3 separate regions of the Homo sapiens genome follow, and all the other regions are linked to region 1. Evidence: promoter capture Hi-C in 16 types of primary human blood cells and fetal thymus (Javierre and others, 2016). All regions are on one chromosome and are shown on one strand. The core of a region is centred on a gene start or on the middle of the fragment in contact, and the rest is flanking DNA. Distances in the headings are between cores, read along the strand shown.

What was found. The method cuts DNA at HindIII sites, captures the fragments that hold promoters and counts their contacts. A CHiCAGO score of 5 or more calls a contact.
Region 2: a contact is called between the fragment with the promoter of PRKCE here and the fragment with the promoter of PPM1B in region 1, in 1 of 17 cell types (fetal thymus). The highest score is 5.0, in fetal thymus.
Region 3: the fragment with the promoter of SRBD1 here is called in contact with the fragment with the promoter of PPM1B in region 1 in 8 of 17 cell types (fetal thymus, monocytes, total CD8 T cells and 5 more); the score reaches 14.6 in fetal thymus.

What each region holds. Positions count from the first base shown.
Region 1 is chr2:44,166,232-44,171,184 of GRCh38, forward strand. PPM1B (protein phosphatase, Mg2+/Mn2+ dependent 1B) reads left to right here and starts at 2,644. Exons shown (of 6, transcript NM_002706.6): 1 at 2,644-3,043. PPM1B-DT (PPM1B divergent transcript) reads right to left here and starts at 2,561. Exons shown (of 2, transcript XR_940034.3): 1 at 1,067-2,561. It also overlaps the pseudogene PDSS1P2. RefSeq lists silencers at 2,345-2,674, 2,995-3,204. The HindIII fragment of the contact is 4,313 bases long and covers 941-4,953 here.
Region 2 is chr2:45,648,923-45,653,875 of GRCh38, forward strand. It overlaps PRKCE (protein kinase C epsilon), which reads left to right and starts at 2,753. Exons shown (of 15, transcript NM_005400.3): 1 at 2,753-3,526. The coding sequence starts at 3,179. LOC102724965 (a long non-coding RNA gene) reads right to left here and starts at 2,293. Exons shown (of 2, transcript XR_005647119.2): 1 at 1,043-2,293; 2 at 1-461. RefSeq lists silencers at 1,183-1,282, 1,913-2,012, 2,183-2,652 and enhancers at 2,028-2,322, 2,811-3,431. The HindIII fragment of the contact is 7,889 bases long and covers 1-4,953 here.
Region 3 is chr2:45,608,814-45,613,766 of GRCh38, forward strand. It overlaps SRBD1 (S1 RNA binding domain 1), which reads right to left and starts at 2,454. Exons shown (of 21, transcript NM_018079.5): 1 at 2,406-2,454. RefSeq lists an enhancer at 2,105-2,274. The HindIII fragment of the contact is 4,677 bases long and covers 1-3,837 here.

The DNA.
Region 1 (4,953 bases), core at 1,394-3,893:
CCGCCACCCTGCCGCGACTTTCAGTCTCCGACCATGGCCTCACGCTGGTGGCGGTGTGCCCGGCTCCCCCGGCCTTGCAGGGCCTCCAGGGCCGCGCGCCGCTGCCGGCGCCCGCGCTCAGGCTCATAGGCGGAAGGGATTCGGCTTGTCTCAGATACCCTATTTTAGTCTTGTGAAGCGCTTAACATCTGCCTGTCCAAATGTATACAGTATATCACGGTTTTATCACACAACCCCGGACAGTAAAACACACAGTGGTGAGAAATATACAGATCACCGATCCTTTCAAATTCGGTTGCAGAGACTTGAAAGGTCTGTATGAGGACATTAGAAAGGAACTGCTCATATCAACAACAGAACTTCAGGAAATGTCTGAGTACTACTTTGATGGAAAAGGAAAAGCCTTTCGACCAATTATTGGGGTGCTAATGGCCCGAGCATGTAATATCCATCATAACAACTCCCGATCCGATGTCCAATTTTCACAAGCTGATTGCTGAGAAGGTTCTAGGCGGCGTCTGTTAAAAAGCATTGCTGTCTGTTAATTTGACATGTGCAAGCCAGCCACCGCGCCATAGCCTTAATTGCAGAAATGATCCACACTGCTAGTCTGGTTCACGATGACGTTATTGACGATACAAGTTCTCGAAGAGGAAAACACACAGTTAATAAGATCTGGGGTGAAAAGAAGATACGGTTTTTTGGTTTTTTAAAATCTCTCTTACCGAATCACATGCTTTTTGGACCGCGTTTGCTTTTTCAGATTTGTCTTATTAAAAAGTAAAATATGCTTGCTCAAAAAACAAAAAAACCCGAATTGCAATTAAGTCTTTGTTTCTGCCGTCCTTATGACGGCCTGGACAATTGTCCTATTACTAAATTTGCCCTTTTCTATAAAACATTGACAGCCCCTAACCTGAATAGCACTCTGTTGGGTCTAAGCTTAAATTGTCTGCCCAAACCATTTTACACCAAAGTAGGAAATAGGTTTAAGTTCTTTTAGGACATTCGGATTAAAAAAAAAATATATATATATATATATATCCTAAGGTAAGTATTAGAATACCTCTATTACACTTTTGTTTCTCGTTTGGAGAATTAACATGGCAGCATCGTCTAATTTGATAGCTGGAGGAGTCATGTCCACTTTCCCCATCGGCCTGTTAAACCCCTATCATTCATTCTTGACTCATCCTGTGTCTTTGTGAAGCCTTTCTTGGTAAACCTATGCACAAGGAAGACCCTTTATGTCGTCACCAGCCCTTGTGCATGTTTCAATTGTAGTACCTATCATCTTGTACTGCGATTGCCTAATTTATTTTTGTATCTCCAGTTCTACATACAGTACCTGGCAAACAGTAGGCGCTCAATAACTGCGAAATGAACAAGTCCATGTCAAGAGACTAGGCTGGGAGTTTTAATATCAATGCCGACTGAGAAACAAAATACGGAAATGTCAAGGGCTGGTATAAAAATAATCTCTAATAGCACAAAATCCTCCTGAAGGGAACACCTGTCCCACTTTCTCACGTTGCTTTCCAGGTTCTTCCGACACCCCAATTTCCCGCCCACTCTTCTCCCTCCGGGGTACAGGTCAGGCAGGTATCCCAGCTCGGCGGCTCTGATAGGTCGGCGATGATTTCATTGTTAGGGAACATCCGGGCCTTTCCCCTCCCCGCAACACCTCCCCAGAGCCCGGCCTTCCCAGTTTCCCACTCTCGCCTGCGCCCCACCCGCGGCTGAAGCAAAACAACCGCCTCTCCCCTGCCCACTTCTTGTCCTCGTCTGAGTCGTCCCTTCCCGTCTCCACGCCGAAGAGAGGCGTTTAGATCCTCCAATGAGGGCCTAGGAGGACTTTCTTAGCCAATCAGTAGCCAAGCCCCTGCAATTCCGGGTGGGACCAGGCGTCCACACCTATAGCTGGACTGCTCGTTGGTCCCTTATGGCGCTTCTTTTACGCGAGGCTTAGAGGTCAAATACAAGGGGGCACGGTCCTCACAGAACGGAAAGGATCCGTACAGACTCTCCGGGTTTGACCGTTTTCTAGGACGAACCAATCGCTTTCCAGATACTTCCCCGCCTTTTGCGCGTTCATTTGAAAAAAGCCGGTGTGACGGACTTGGAAATTGGCTCAGTGACTGACCCGCAAGAAAGCCAGTGACTGGGGGTTCGGATCACGAGTTGGACCAATAAGAAAAGACAATCGCTGGGGCCGGGGCTTTGCTAGGAGGAGCGCAGGTGGGCGTTATTTGATTGACGGAGGGCTCTACTTATGGCTGGTAGCGGGGGCTGGTCCCTGACGTTCGGGAGGTAGGACCTAGCGGAGGCGGGGCCGAATAAAGTAAATGGTAATAAAGGGTTGGGTCTCACTTAGTGGGCGGTGTTTGATGGACAGCTGACCTTGCCTATTGAAAGTAGCCACTGATGCCCAATGGGAAATTAGAAACCCAGAGGCGGGGCCGGGTGGGCGGGGTAAACGAAGTACGGAGGTGCCGAGGGAGCAGCACGGGGAGGGGGAGCGGTGATTGACAAGACTCCCAGCAAACCGGGGGCCGTGAGAGGGCGCGCGGCATCCCAGTGGGTGGCAGCTGGAGGCGGGGCACCCTGAGGGGCGGGGAAGGACTAGGGTGCGGGGAGGGGGTTGCAAAAGGAGCCGAGCGGCTTCTGCTCAATGGCGGAAAAGCCGCCGGTGCTCTGACGGCCTCGTTCCCCTAGCAGTTGCGGGGGAGTTTCCTGCCGGCGCGGCTGGAGTCTCTGATTCTCAGGGTTCGGTGGTTGGAAGATGCTCCAGAGAGACGAGGCTGCGGCGGAGGAGGTGGCGGCGGCCGAATCGGCAACGGCGCTAGGGTGGAGAGAAGGCGGCATCGGCGGCGGCGGCGGCGTGAGGGGCCGGGCGGTGTAAACAGCCCCGGAGGCGGCGGTCGAGACCCCGAGGGGGAAGCGGCGGCTGAGTCAGGGTCGCGCCTCCGTTGGAAACTTGGGCTGAGTACCGCGGCGGGCGCGAGCGAGGCGCCCTAGACATCTTCTCCCTCCCTTGCCTCAGGTAAGGCCGCCCGGCACCCCGCCGGAGGGGAAGCGGCTGACCGGCCGCGCCGCCGAGGCCCCGGGCCCTGGGCAGGTTTTCGCGGTGCTGCCGAGCCGCGGCCGGGGCCTCTGTCCTTCCGAATCCTCGCTGCTTTCCCTGCTGCCGCGGAGCCTAGGCAGGGGAACGCCGGGCCTGGCTCTCGGGTATAGGCCCCTTCCCCGGCCGCCGCCTCCGCTGGGCTGAGGTCTGGGAGAGGCGCAGGGAGAGAATGGGAGTTTGCTGGAACGCCTGGAAGCTGACTGATTCTCTCTTCCCTCCGCTTCAGTCTGCAAGCATCTCTTTCACACGAAAGCACTGGGGCTACCCCAAGCCTTGGCGCTTCTCTTCCTGGTGCATGCCCTGTTTGAAAACACTATCTTTTACCATTCGTTTCCTCATCAGCTTCTGCCCTACTCTGCGCTCCACTTCACTTCCTTGTTAAATCGTCTTTCTCTGCTGTCTATGCGTTCTACCCTCGCCTTCCCTCCTTAGTGGCTTTAAATTGTGTGTTTCTCTTTTCTTCGTACCCCGGCATCTCTTGCCTGTCTTCCCTAGCACCATCCTTTTCGGATGTCATTCCTAACAGTGAAGTTCTTAATTGAAACTGCCACTTATTGTCAGTACCCCAAATCTACCGGAGCCCCATTAAGAGTATAGACTGACTAGCCATATGTGGTAAATCAGTTTTTCATAGTTTAAGCCTAACAACCTTGAAAAAATTGTATTATTAAACGTAAAGTGTGAAAATAACACCGAAAATAATTTTTTAAATGAAGGACTCAGTGAGTGTTGGAAATAGTTATTTCTTCATTTTTTAAACTTGCATGACCTCTCATATCAGATTTAGCAGATCTGGGACGTTTGCCCATCTTATTCGGCAAAAAAAGTGCTTCTTAGGCGTTTGATAGCAGCCCAAATTCATCAATATTCAATTTCTTCTAAGAACAACTTGAAAACTTTTTTAAAAAGAGACGTTAATAACTGGGAAGTTGTTTTGATAGTCACAGTTAAAGAGCTTTTAAAATAGGCTCCACATGTTTAATGTATCAAAATAAAGTTGGCAGGCATGTTGTAAAAGGATTATTTAGGAATTTGAGTAGTCTTAGTGTTATGTAGCTATTTTAGGAAAAACATTCTTTTTCTGTTAACAAACGTTTACAACTACGGTGATGTGAGAATTACTGAGGCTTACTGTGGGATTAACACAGGAACTGTCTTTATTTGAGCTACTGCATGGATGAAGAAGTGGTAAATTGTTCAGAGTAGACAGTGTAAGTCACAGTATGTTCTAGGAGATGGAGAAACATGCCATGGACGCTGAATGTTAATAGATGTTATTTCATTTACTTTCTCTGTTGTGCAATAGCAAAGTTCCTATTGTTGGCCTACTTTTAAATGGGGCATTTCTAAGTAAATAGTGAGACAAGTTATTCTAATTATTATGATAGTCTTTTCCAAGTGTACAGGCCTTTTAAAAATATAGTTGAAGTAATGGTAATTTTTTAAGGAAATGTTTTTGTAGGTCTGCCAAATGGACAGTGTGTTGTTCTAATCGAAATTTTAAAATTAAGTATTTAGAACAGAATATTTTAGTCCACACATTTTCAGGGATAATCTTTATTTTGTGCTTCTTCTCTCAATGCCTTCTTTGTCTTTTTTTTTGTCTTAATGGTTGTTGTGTTTTCGCCTCTTCATTTGTTTTTGCTCTCATGAAGTCTTACAACAGTTTCTGCAGTGGTTCTTTTTGTTGCTGTATATTAGCACGAGTATTTTTATTTGAGCTTTCATACTGTAAGATTTCCCCAGTTTCTAGTACATTATCCTCTGGATTTGTTGAAGTGATTGTTCTCTTTGAAGTGACCAGCAGAGCTTTCAACACCGTTTTCTTA
Region 2 (4,953 bases), core at 1,503-4,002, 1.5 Mb after region 1:
CTATTTAATATATTTGGGGGCTGGGCATGGTGGCTCCTGCCTGTACAAGACTTACCCAAAGCAAGTAATGAGAACATATGAAGCACCAATTAGTCAAGGATCCCTAACTCCATGAAATCCTTGACTTTCCAGACTTCCCAACAGGATCAGGACTAGGGTGAGATGAGTGACGCACTCGGCTCAGGTACAAAATTTAACAGGTGCCAATAAACTCAGTAGTATAAATATTTTAGTGCAATATTTAAAATTATTTAAAATGTGGATATTGTGTCCATTCTGGATTCTCACATTTTTATTTTTAAAAAATTGTATTAAATCTTTATCTTGATTACGTTTATTGGTACCCTTTACATTTTGCCTCTGAAAAGTATCTCACTCATCTCACTTTGGTGCTGGCTCTGCTTCCCAAATGCATTTTCAGAAGATCAAGCCATATTTGCCACTGCCTTCCATCACATGCCCTGGAAAGGGGGAAAGAGGCTTCATGAGAATAGCAGAGTGGAAGGAAGAAGCAAAAGGGAAAAAAGTAATAATCAAAGAAATAAAAATTAAACAGCAATGAGATACCCCTGCTTGTGCTTTGTCAAACGGACATATTTTAAGATATCGTATCTCCAGCTGGGGGAGTGACAGGGTAAGACAACCATTGAAATCCTGGCTTTTTACATCGGAGCTACCTAGATCATACGGAAGACTGAATCTTAGCACCATCTCTACCCAGCTGCCCTGTTCAACAGGGCAGGCTGCGAGAAATTACTGTATTAGGAAGCTCCAGAGCGGTTGCAGGCAAAGGCTTTGCCTGTTCTTAGGAGATGGCCCTAGAACTTTTCGGATCATTTTTGGGACGTGTTTGCTGCACTTGATATCCTGTTTTTCCAGGGGACTGCCTCCTTCCTCGCCTTTAAGCCTTTTTAGGCTTTTAAGCCGCAGGCAATGATAACCTTTACCCACTGAGGAAAAAGTGATCGGGAGGCGCGTTTTAAATTTTGGTTTACACTAACCAGACCCGCCAGATGAACACTCAGCTTACCACAATACCTACAAATTCCCAGACTTGACTTGGCAGAAGGGCGAGGGCGGAGGTTTTCTTTCCCCATTTGCATAATCCCCAGCTCCCCGGCAGCGGAGCCGACCTCTTCACCGCCGCCGTCTTCGCGGGTGTCCCAGCTGGGCCGCGCCCCGGGGCCCAGCGCTCCGGCCCTGCCCTCCCAGGTTCCCAGTCTCGGGCGCGGGGCAGTCCCTCGCCGGCCGCCGGCCCGGTCCCGGCTCCCAGCCGAGGAAATTTTTCCCCAGCAGCCCAGGGCTCTCCTCACGTGACCAGCCGCGGCGGTAGCTTCCAGCGAGAGTTTAAAGGTTACGGAGGAAATTAGCAAGGACACAGCCACTCGCCCCCCGGAGGGCGCGCCCCATTTTCCCGCAGCCCGGACGGCGGCTGTCAGCGCGCTGATCAGTGCCGAAGTCCCCCAAAGGGGCACCGATAAGGACCAGCGCAAACAGGAACAGTCACTTTGCAAAAAATAAGCAGACCACAAACCAAGCCGGGGCTCTACCGAGCTTTCACTTGTCAACAAGTTCTCGCAGCCTGCGAAGTCCAGGACAGATCCCAAAGGGGAGAATGTCCCCAAAGAAAGGCAAGAGAGAAGAACAGAGTTTAAAACTTCACCCGAGCCATGCTTGTCCCTCCCCCTTCCCCCTCCCCCACCGCCGTGGATCACAGCGTCCCGGGACAGAGTGACAGATGGGCCAGAACTCCGCAGACTGCTCCTGCCCGCCGCGGCCCGAGTGGGGGTGGGCAAGGGAAGGGTCCCGAGGCCTCTAGGGCAACAGGGCCCCCTCCACTCCCCCATCCCCGGCTCTAAAAGACAGTGTTGGCCGCAGGGTCCCCGAGAGATACGCGGCCCGGCGGGGCCCATCCATGGCCATCCACGGCCCCCGGCACGCGCATCCAGCCCAGCGCCGCCGCACCCCGGGGTCCCGCGCGGGGTCCCCGCCCCCCGGCTGACCCGCCCGCCGCTGCGACCCCGGGCAGCCTCGCCAGCTCTCCACCGTTGTCTCCTCGGCTCACTTTTTCCGTATTGCTCCCCCAACCGGCAAAACTTTCTATTTCCCCAAACACTGCCGTGCGCGCGCGCGCGTGCACACACACACACTCACACACACACACTCACACACACTGACGTCTTTTGCGCATTTCCTGCATTAGAGGGAGGGAGACTCGCTCGCACACCGACAGAGGGAGAGGAGACCGCGGGGGAGCGCGGGCTGGCGGGCGGCGAGCGAGCGGCAGCCGAGAGCGGGGACGCGGGGAGCGCGGAGGGCGGGCGCCGGCGCCCAGGAGGTGGGGCCGCGCTGAGTCGCAGTCCCTGCCCCGCCGCCGCGCTGCGCACCGCCCGGTGCTGGCCTGCGCCCCCGAGCCGGATCGGCGGCCGCCCGGACTCCGAGCCCGCGCGGATGTGAGATTCCGGGCTCCTGGCGCCTCCCGATCGCCGGCTCCGGCGCGGCGCTGCTTCGCCCAGGAGGCGGCGGCCCCGGCTGGCCGTGGGGCTTGTGGATTTTTAAAAATTTGGCTCCGAGGAGGACCATTTCCTCTCGACATGCATCCCTCCGGATAGACTGAACATCCCTCCGTTCACCCCCCCGCCCCGCGCGGTCAGAGGCAGGCGCTGAGTGTGCGAAGAGGATCCGGGTTGAAATCTGCGCCCCCGGTTCTCGTCCCCGCCCCGTCCCACCGCCCCATCCCCCTCCCGGAGTCGAAATTTCCCGGGATTATGTTTCGGAAAGGTAGGTAAGCGCCGGGCGCGGCGCCCGCTTTCCCGCAGTCCGGAGCCGGAGAGCCAGCGAGGCGGCGAGGCAGCCCCCGCGGCTTGCAGCGGAGCCGACAGCTCGTCTTCTCTTCTGGAGGTGCAGCTGGTGGTCGGGGGGAGAGACTTGCTCCAAACACGGACATCCCCCAGCTCTCCCCCCTCCCTGTTTTCCGTTAGGAACCCGGCGAGGAAATACATGCACTGGCTGAGAATCGCCCGCGCCAGGGCGCAACGCCACAAGGTGTAGGGAGTGTGCGGGGTGGGGCGAAAGGGGACCCAAGAGTCCCTGTGGCTCGGAGTGCCGGGCCGTCGGTTCTTCATTCCTGCCCTCGGGGCAGACGGAGTGACCCCGGCCCCCACTCCCCGCCCCGACCATGGTAGTGTTCAATGGCCTTCTTAAGATCAAAATCTGCGAGGCCGTGAGCTTGAAGCCCACAGCCTGGTCGCTGCGCCATGCGGTGGGACCCCGGCCGCAGACTTTCCTTCTCGACCCCTACATTGCCCTCAATGTGGACGACTCGCGCATCGGCCAAACGGCCACCAAGCAGAAGACCAACAGCCCGGCCTGGCACGACGAGTTCGTCACCGATGTGTGCAACGGACGCAAGATCGAGCTGGCTGTCTTTCACGATGCCCCCATAGGCTACGACGACTTCGTGGCCAACTGCACCATCCAGTTTGAGGAGCTGCTGCAGAACGGGAGCCGCCACTTCGAGGACTGGGTGAGTGCGGCGCCTCCCCGTCATTCCGGGAACCCGGTTGTGGGGTCCCGGGGAAAGACTCGCTGGTCTTGATCGTAGGGCTCCGGGACTTATTGACGACTGGGGTGTGTGTGCCTGTAAGTCTCAGTTTCCTTGGGGAGGTACACTTCACTTCATAGTTGGGGAGAAACAGGCATTGGCGAGGAAGATGAGACTTGGAAAGAGGATGTGGCCCTCTGCTCCCTCTGTGCCCTCCAGTTGGTGGGTGCTGCGGGAGGTTTGCAAACTGGGAGAGCCTGGGCCACTGGTGCTGAAGGTTGGCCGAGGACCCGGCTTTCTTCCGCAGGCGCGTGGTGGGCTGGCTGTGTGTGATTGTGTGTGGGTGGGTCCCTCCGTCCTTGGAAAGGCACGTGGAGCCTTTGACTGAAGGCTTCTTGCACGTCCTGGCTTTGTCCTGCTTAGCCGAGCGAGGAGTTGCTTTATTTTTCCCTCCGAGAGGAAGCTGGCTTGTTTCTATTCTCTTGCATGGTGGTTAGCTCATCTTCTGACATACAAGTAGAAAAAATGTGTTCTCCTCCAGGATGTCTCCTCTATGGTCCCAGAAACATCAGTCGAGCTTGTTTTGTCCAATTCATTGCCCATCCATGCAGAATGAATGTTGCATTTTAAGAAGGGTTCTGCTTGTGGGTAATTGGAAGTCAGTGCTTTGAATCTTATTTAAAGTTATATTGTTTCTCTGTTTTGATTGTCAAGATACTGTGCAATAAAAGACGATTTCTAAGTATGAGATTGAGTTGTTAATTGATTCCATTATTAAACTATTAAGGATTTGGAAAGAGGTCTTGTCTCAATCTACTATAAACCAAATGCATCCAGTCTTGGCACTTGGACAAGCAGAGAGAAGCAAACCTTCATTTTGCTTTTTGTGTTTGTTTTTGGGTTGTTTTTTTTTTTTTTTTTTTTTTTTTCTCTCTTCTTGGAAGGAAGGTATTAATTTAGGATGTGGATTTTTGTGTTTTCAGGTTTGTTACATGTTTCCAGCAAGTACAAGCGTTCCTCTGGAGGTATATGTTTTCAGGGTTCTTTGGTCTACACAAAAAGTGAGAGAGCTATCTAAGCCTCAAAAGTGGTGTAGAGCAATTGCTTTCTATTGAAAACCAGCTAACTTCATGAATGTCCTAGAGGTCAGAGGTTGCACATGGATCACTTTGGCATATCACCTTACATATTTTTTTCAAGGACACGGAGTTTTAGGGAAAAATAAGAGAGAGCCTGTTGTTTTTGTGCTCATGGCTGTGATGTAGTCTGCCTGAAACCATGGTTACGGTTTCACAGGGAAGCTCCAACAAGCCACATGCGTAGAACTCTAGATTTGTGGTTTGCACTTTGGAAAGCAGGCAAACCTTTATGGAATCCCAGAGAACTCCATGCCATTCTATTCTACTTCA
Region 3 (4,953 bases), core at 1,204-3,703, 1.4 Mb after region 1:
AAAAAAAAATTTTTTTTTTTTTTTGAGACGGTCTCACTCTGTCACCCAGCCTGGAGTGATCTCAGCTCACTGCAAACTCTGCCTCCCAGGTTCAAGCAATTCTCCTGCCTTAGCCTCCTAAGTAACTGGGATTACAGGCGTGTACCACCACACCCAGCTAATTTTTCTATTTTTGATAGAGACGGGGTTCGTCACGTTGGCCAGGCTGGTCTCGAACTCCTGGCCTCAGGTGATCTGCCTGCCTCGGCCTCCCAAAGTGCTGGGATTACAAGTGTGAGCCATGGCGCCTGGCCAGAAAATTCTTTAACAGCTTCATTGACATATAATTGACATGCAATACACTGCACATGTTTAAAGTGTGCAAATTTGATGTTTTGACATATGTATACATATCACTACAATCAAGAAAATGAACACATTATCATCCTCCAAAGTTCCATTTGCTAAGTCAAAATGTTACAAATCTTTTTTTCTTTCATCTCACATATCCAGACTATTAGTAAGTCACATAAGATCCTCCTCCAAAATGTCTTGAATCTCCACGATCTTCAGTGAGCCTTTAGTCCTCAACCTCCCTCACTTGAACTACCACACTCGCCTCTTAACTGCCCTCCCTACTTCCACTCTTGCCCCTGCAACTCATTCTCCACTTATCAACTCAAGATCATTTAGAATATGCTTTAGAAACAACGAATTACTTCCCACCCCATCCTTCACTTAGAATCAAGCCACATTTTTATGAGGCCTTTGAAAAGGCCCTGTCGGACTGAGCCCTGCTCACCTTTCTAACCACCTTTACTACTTGCTGGAGCTCCTCAGCTCTTGTCATAACATTCTTTCCCACCTCAGGTACTCTCTGCCTGGAGTATTCTTCCCCCTGCTTGTCAATTGGCTGGCTCCTTGCATCCCTTAGATCTTAACATTTCAGGCCTAAAATAGGTTTCTCAATTATATTTTAAAAGGAGCCTATTTACTTCCTGTATACAGTAGGTTATAACACAATCTGTAATTATTTTTATTTTACTTGTTTATTGCTTGCACTGCTGTCAAGAGAGTAAATACCATGAAAGAAGGAAATGCATGTGCCTTATTCACTTCCATATCATAGAACCTAGCACTTAACAGATGCCCTACAACTATTAAATGAACATAATATGTACAAATATGGTCTCTACAGAGGAATATACATTTATTTTCCACCACTCTTAGGCAATGCCACACATTGCATTCATCTCTTTCTGAAGAAGTGATGGCACATAAGAATATTCCTATTCTTCAGTGACTTGGGATTTTTCCCTCCTTTCAAACTATCTTAATCACTGTAGGCACATGAGCATATTCCAAACCAATAATTTGGAGGTTGCTATGATGTTACTAAGGGAAGAGCCACTAAACTAGGACGACTGCAAATCAGGACAAAGGGGCAAAAGGACGTGCACACTAACAAATACTAAATTAAAATTGGAAAAAAAAATTTAAATTCAAGAAGGCAAACAAAGGAGGACAATTTCTTAAGAAGCACCTAAACAAGTTTCCATGAAGGACCAACAGAGTGCTTGAATGTTAGCAGATTCCCAAGTCACAAAAACAAAATACTAGAGCTGAAAGAACCTGAGATCAGACAGTCCCGCTATATTCAGAAATCTGAGACCCAATGAGGTGAAACAGTTTACTCAAAGGGGAAAGATATGTGGCAAAGGACTATAGCCCAGTGCCTGGAACACCAAGACTAGTCTCGTTTCCCATTCCACACACAATATGTTAATGACATGTCACGTGAGGGGTTCGAGGAAAGTTGCCTAGAGAGTTCCCAATTCATTCCTTTCCTCCGGTTACTGAGCGCCTCCTACATGCCAGGCGCACTACAGAAGGTGCAGTTGATTCAGACAGGGCCACCATGACCGTGAAAAGGGTGCTTCCTCTCCCACCTCCGATAATTTTAGGTATAAAAACAATCCAGGTAAATTAGCCGGGTGTGATGACGGGCGCCTGTAGCCCCAGCTACTCGGGAGGCTGAGGCAGGCGAATGGCGTGAATCCGGGAGGCGGAGCTTGCAGTGAGCCGAGATCGCTCCACTACACTCCAGCCTGGGCGACAGAGGGAGACTCCGTCTCAAAAAAAAAAAAAACAGGCTTGCCCAGGCTTTTCTATGTCTGTTATGCGCTAAGAGCTGCAGCAATTTGGCTGAAAAGAGGTGTCACGAGGTAGCTAGGAGGGGTTTTCGGGTGGTCGGTTGTGAGAGACCGCTGACAGTAAAATGTAATGAACTTCTCACTTTTAAAAAAGGGGTGTTATTGCCCAAATGAGCGCTCAGAACTTTTTTAATGGCCCCAAAGATCCCGGAGCCCGGACGCCGGGCTCTTGAGAACCCGCAAGACGACCGCCAAGGCGCACGCACAGCTCACCTTCCCGCCCGGCACGTCAGAAGACCCGAGATTCCGTGAGTGCCACCGCACCTTCCGGTTCCCGCCGGAAGTTTTTCAAACGCCAGAAGGTCCGCCTCGCTTCTTCCGGACCAAGTTAGCCACAGACCTCCAAGGCGCGGCGCTACCGAACGGGGCGGAGCCAGGCTGGACGGAGGCGGGGCTAGAGCGAGGATCCCGAGGGAGCGCCGGGGTGGGGCTGGTTCGTAGAAATGAAAAATGACTTTTTTTTTACGTGTTATTTACCAAGAACACTAAACTCTTAAGCCCACAGATACAGCCAAATAAATTAGATTATAAAAGTAGGGAAATAAGGCTGCTGTTGTCTACATTCGAATTTAGCAGATCAAAACCCCATGGATTTGTTTTAGAAAATTCTAAAAAGCAGCTTTCCACTGCTAATGACTTATTTCCAGGGACTCTGAGTACTGAAGAGCCTAGCAAGTTATTGAAATGACCTGTGACCGTGCCTTGTTGCAGATCTACCGGAAGTGAGCATAGATTTTACTGGATAATTTTTGTGATTGGGGGAAAAAAAAAAGGATTCTTTCTAAATTTAGTAAATCTAATCTTCTATATCTGAGATTGTTGGCCAGGAAAGATCAGTTTCCGAGATTGTTTAGGGATTTTTTTTTCCTTTTAATTAGCACAGTCGTATGTTGCCTTTAGTGATGGTTCCAGAAGGCCTAGAATTGTCTACTACAATCACAGTCTCCTTCACAATTTATGGTCCTGAAGAAATACTAGAGAACACCTTACCGTTCAGGATTGTGGGAAGAGAAACCAGATCATAGAAATCAACAACAATAATGTACTACTTACTATTCACCTACTTTTGATGTTGCATTTGCTACTCAGGTTTATGGTAAGGGGTTGTCTTGGTCAATTTTCTGCTGCTGTAACCAAATACCATAGACTGGTAGATTTATAAAGAAAGAGATTTGTTTGGCTTGTAGTTCTGAAGGCTGGGAAGTCCAAGACAGAGGGCATTATTGTTGTGTCAAAATATGATGGAGGGCATCATACTGGGGTAGGGGTGGGGGAGGCATGTGAACCCAATTGACTCCCGAAATAACTAACCCTCCTGTGATAATGGAATTAACTCATTCATGACCTAATCATTTCCTAAAGGTCCCACCTCTTCATACTATTACAATGACAAGTTTCAACTTGAATTTTTGAAGGGGACATTCCAATCATTGCAGAGGTAGTAAGGGTAAAGGTGAACTAATATACTGCAAAGTCTTTTGACATAAGTCCTGCCCTGGAGGAATTTACGACCAAGAGTAGGAACCAGATACAGCCAGAGGAAACAGACACCCAAGCAAAACAGTCTAGCTTCAAGGGTTGGGTATGCAGGTAGTAGCCACACTACAGTGAGGAGGAGAGTAAGAGTGGGCCAGCAAAGCATTGAAGCTTGACTTTCCTCTCCCCACAAGGGATTTTTGCCTTACAGCTGGGGAAGAAAAAAAAAATCACAAAAATAAATAGCCTGTTAAGATTTTAGACATCAGACATCTGGGGAAAATAAAATCTGAAGCAGGTTCTCTAAAATTAAAGTATGTAGGTAGTGGCCTACTCTAAAGGCCAATAAGGACTGTCCAGAGAATATTTCCCTTGGAATTCTATAAGAGAGTCACTCCCACTACACGCTGTCAAGGAAAATTTGTAATCACTTAAGTATAAAACAGGCCCTCCCACAAAAACTGCCTTTTCTGTCTAGGACATTGCCCAATCTATTGTTTACTTTTGGATCTCAAGTGCTGAATTCCAAGAAATTCATGGGTTTAGACTGAAAGCCTGGAATAATCCGGACACCCACCTGAGACTATGCAATAGGGTTTGGGAGTAATGAAAACATGTTTTGGATTTGATGGAGGTTGTTTTATCCCTCCAAAGTATATAGCTCTTCCCATGATATTCACTGATACATTATCATTTGTATGTTATTATCTGTTTTCAAGTCCTTCCCCTATGGGTTCTAGCTCCCCAGGGCAAATGTAATAATAATAGTAATAACTTACCTTTATTGATTACTTACCTGTGCCAGGCACTAAGTTAATGCTTTTAGATGTATTTATGTATATAATTCACATATTACCCCAATGCAATATTGCTATTAAACCATTTTTATAAATGAGAATACCAGGTATAAAGAAGTTAAATAATTCATCTAAGGTCACATCAGCTAATAAATTGTAGATCTGAGATTCAAATCCAATAATCTGCTTTACTCCAAAGCAAGTACTCTGAAAGGTATCCACATACAATTTGCTGTCTATCCACAGGGGATTGGTCTGAGGACCCCCCACAGATAGCAAAATTTACAGATACTCAACCAATCAGTGATAGAAAAAGTTGGCCCACCACATCTGCAGGTTCCATATCCATGAATGCAGATACAGATGGCCAGCTGTACCACAAACTCAAAGCAAAGACCTTTTCTCGCTCCACTATGGTGGCCAGTGAGACTCTCAATGTTTAAGGTGCTCCAGAACTGTCGAATCTCTAAATACTCTAAATAAAGTAC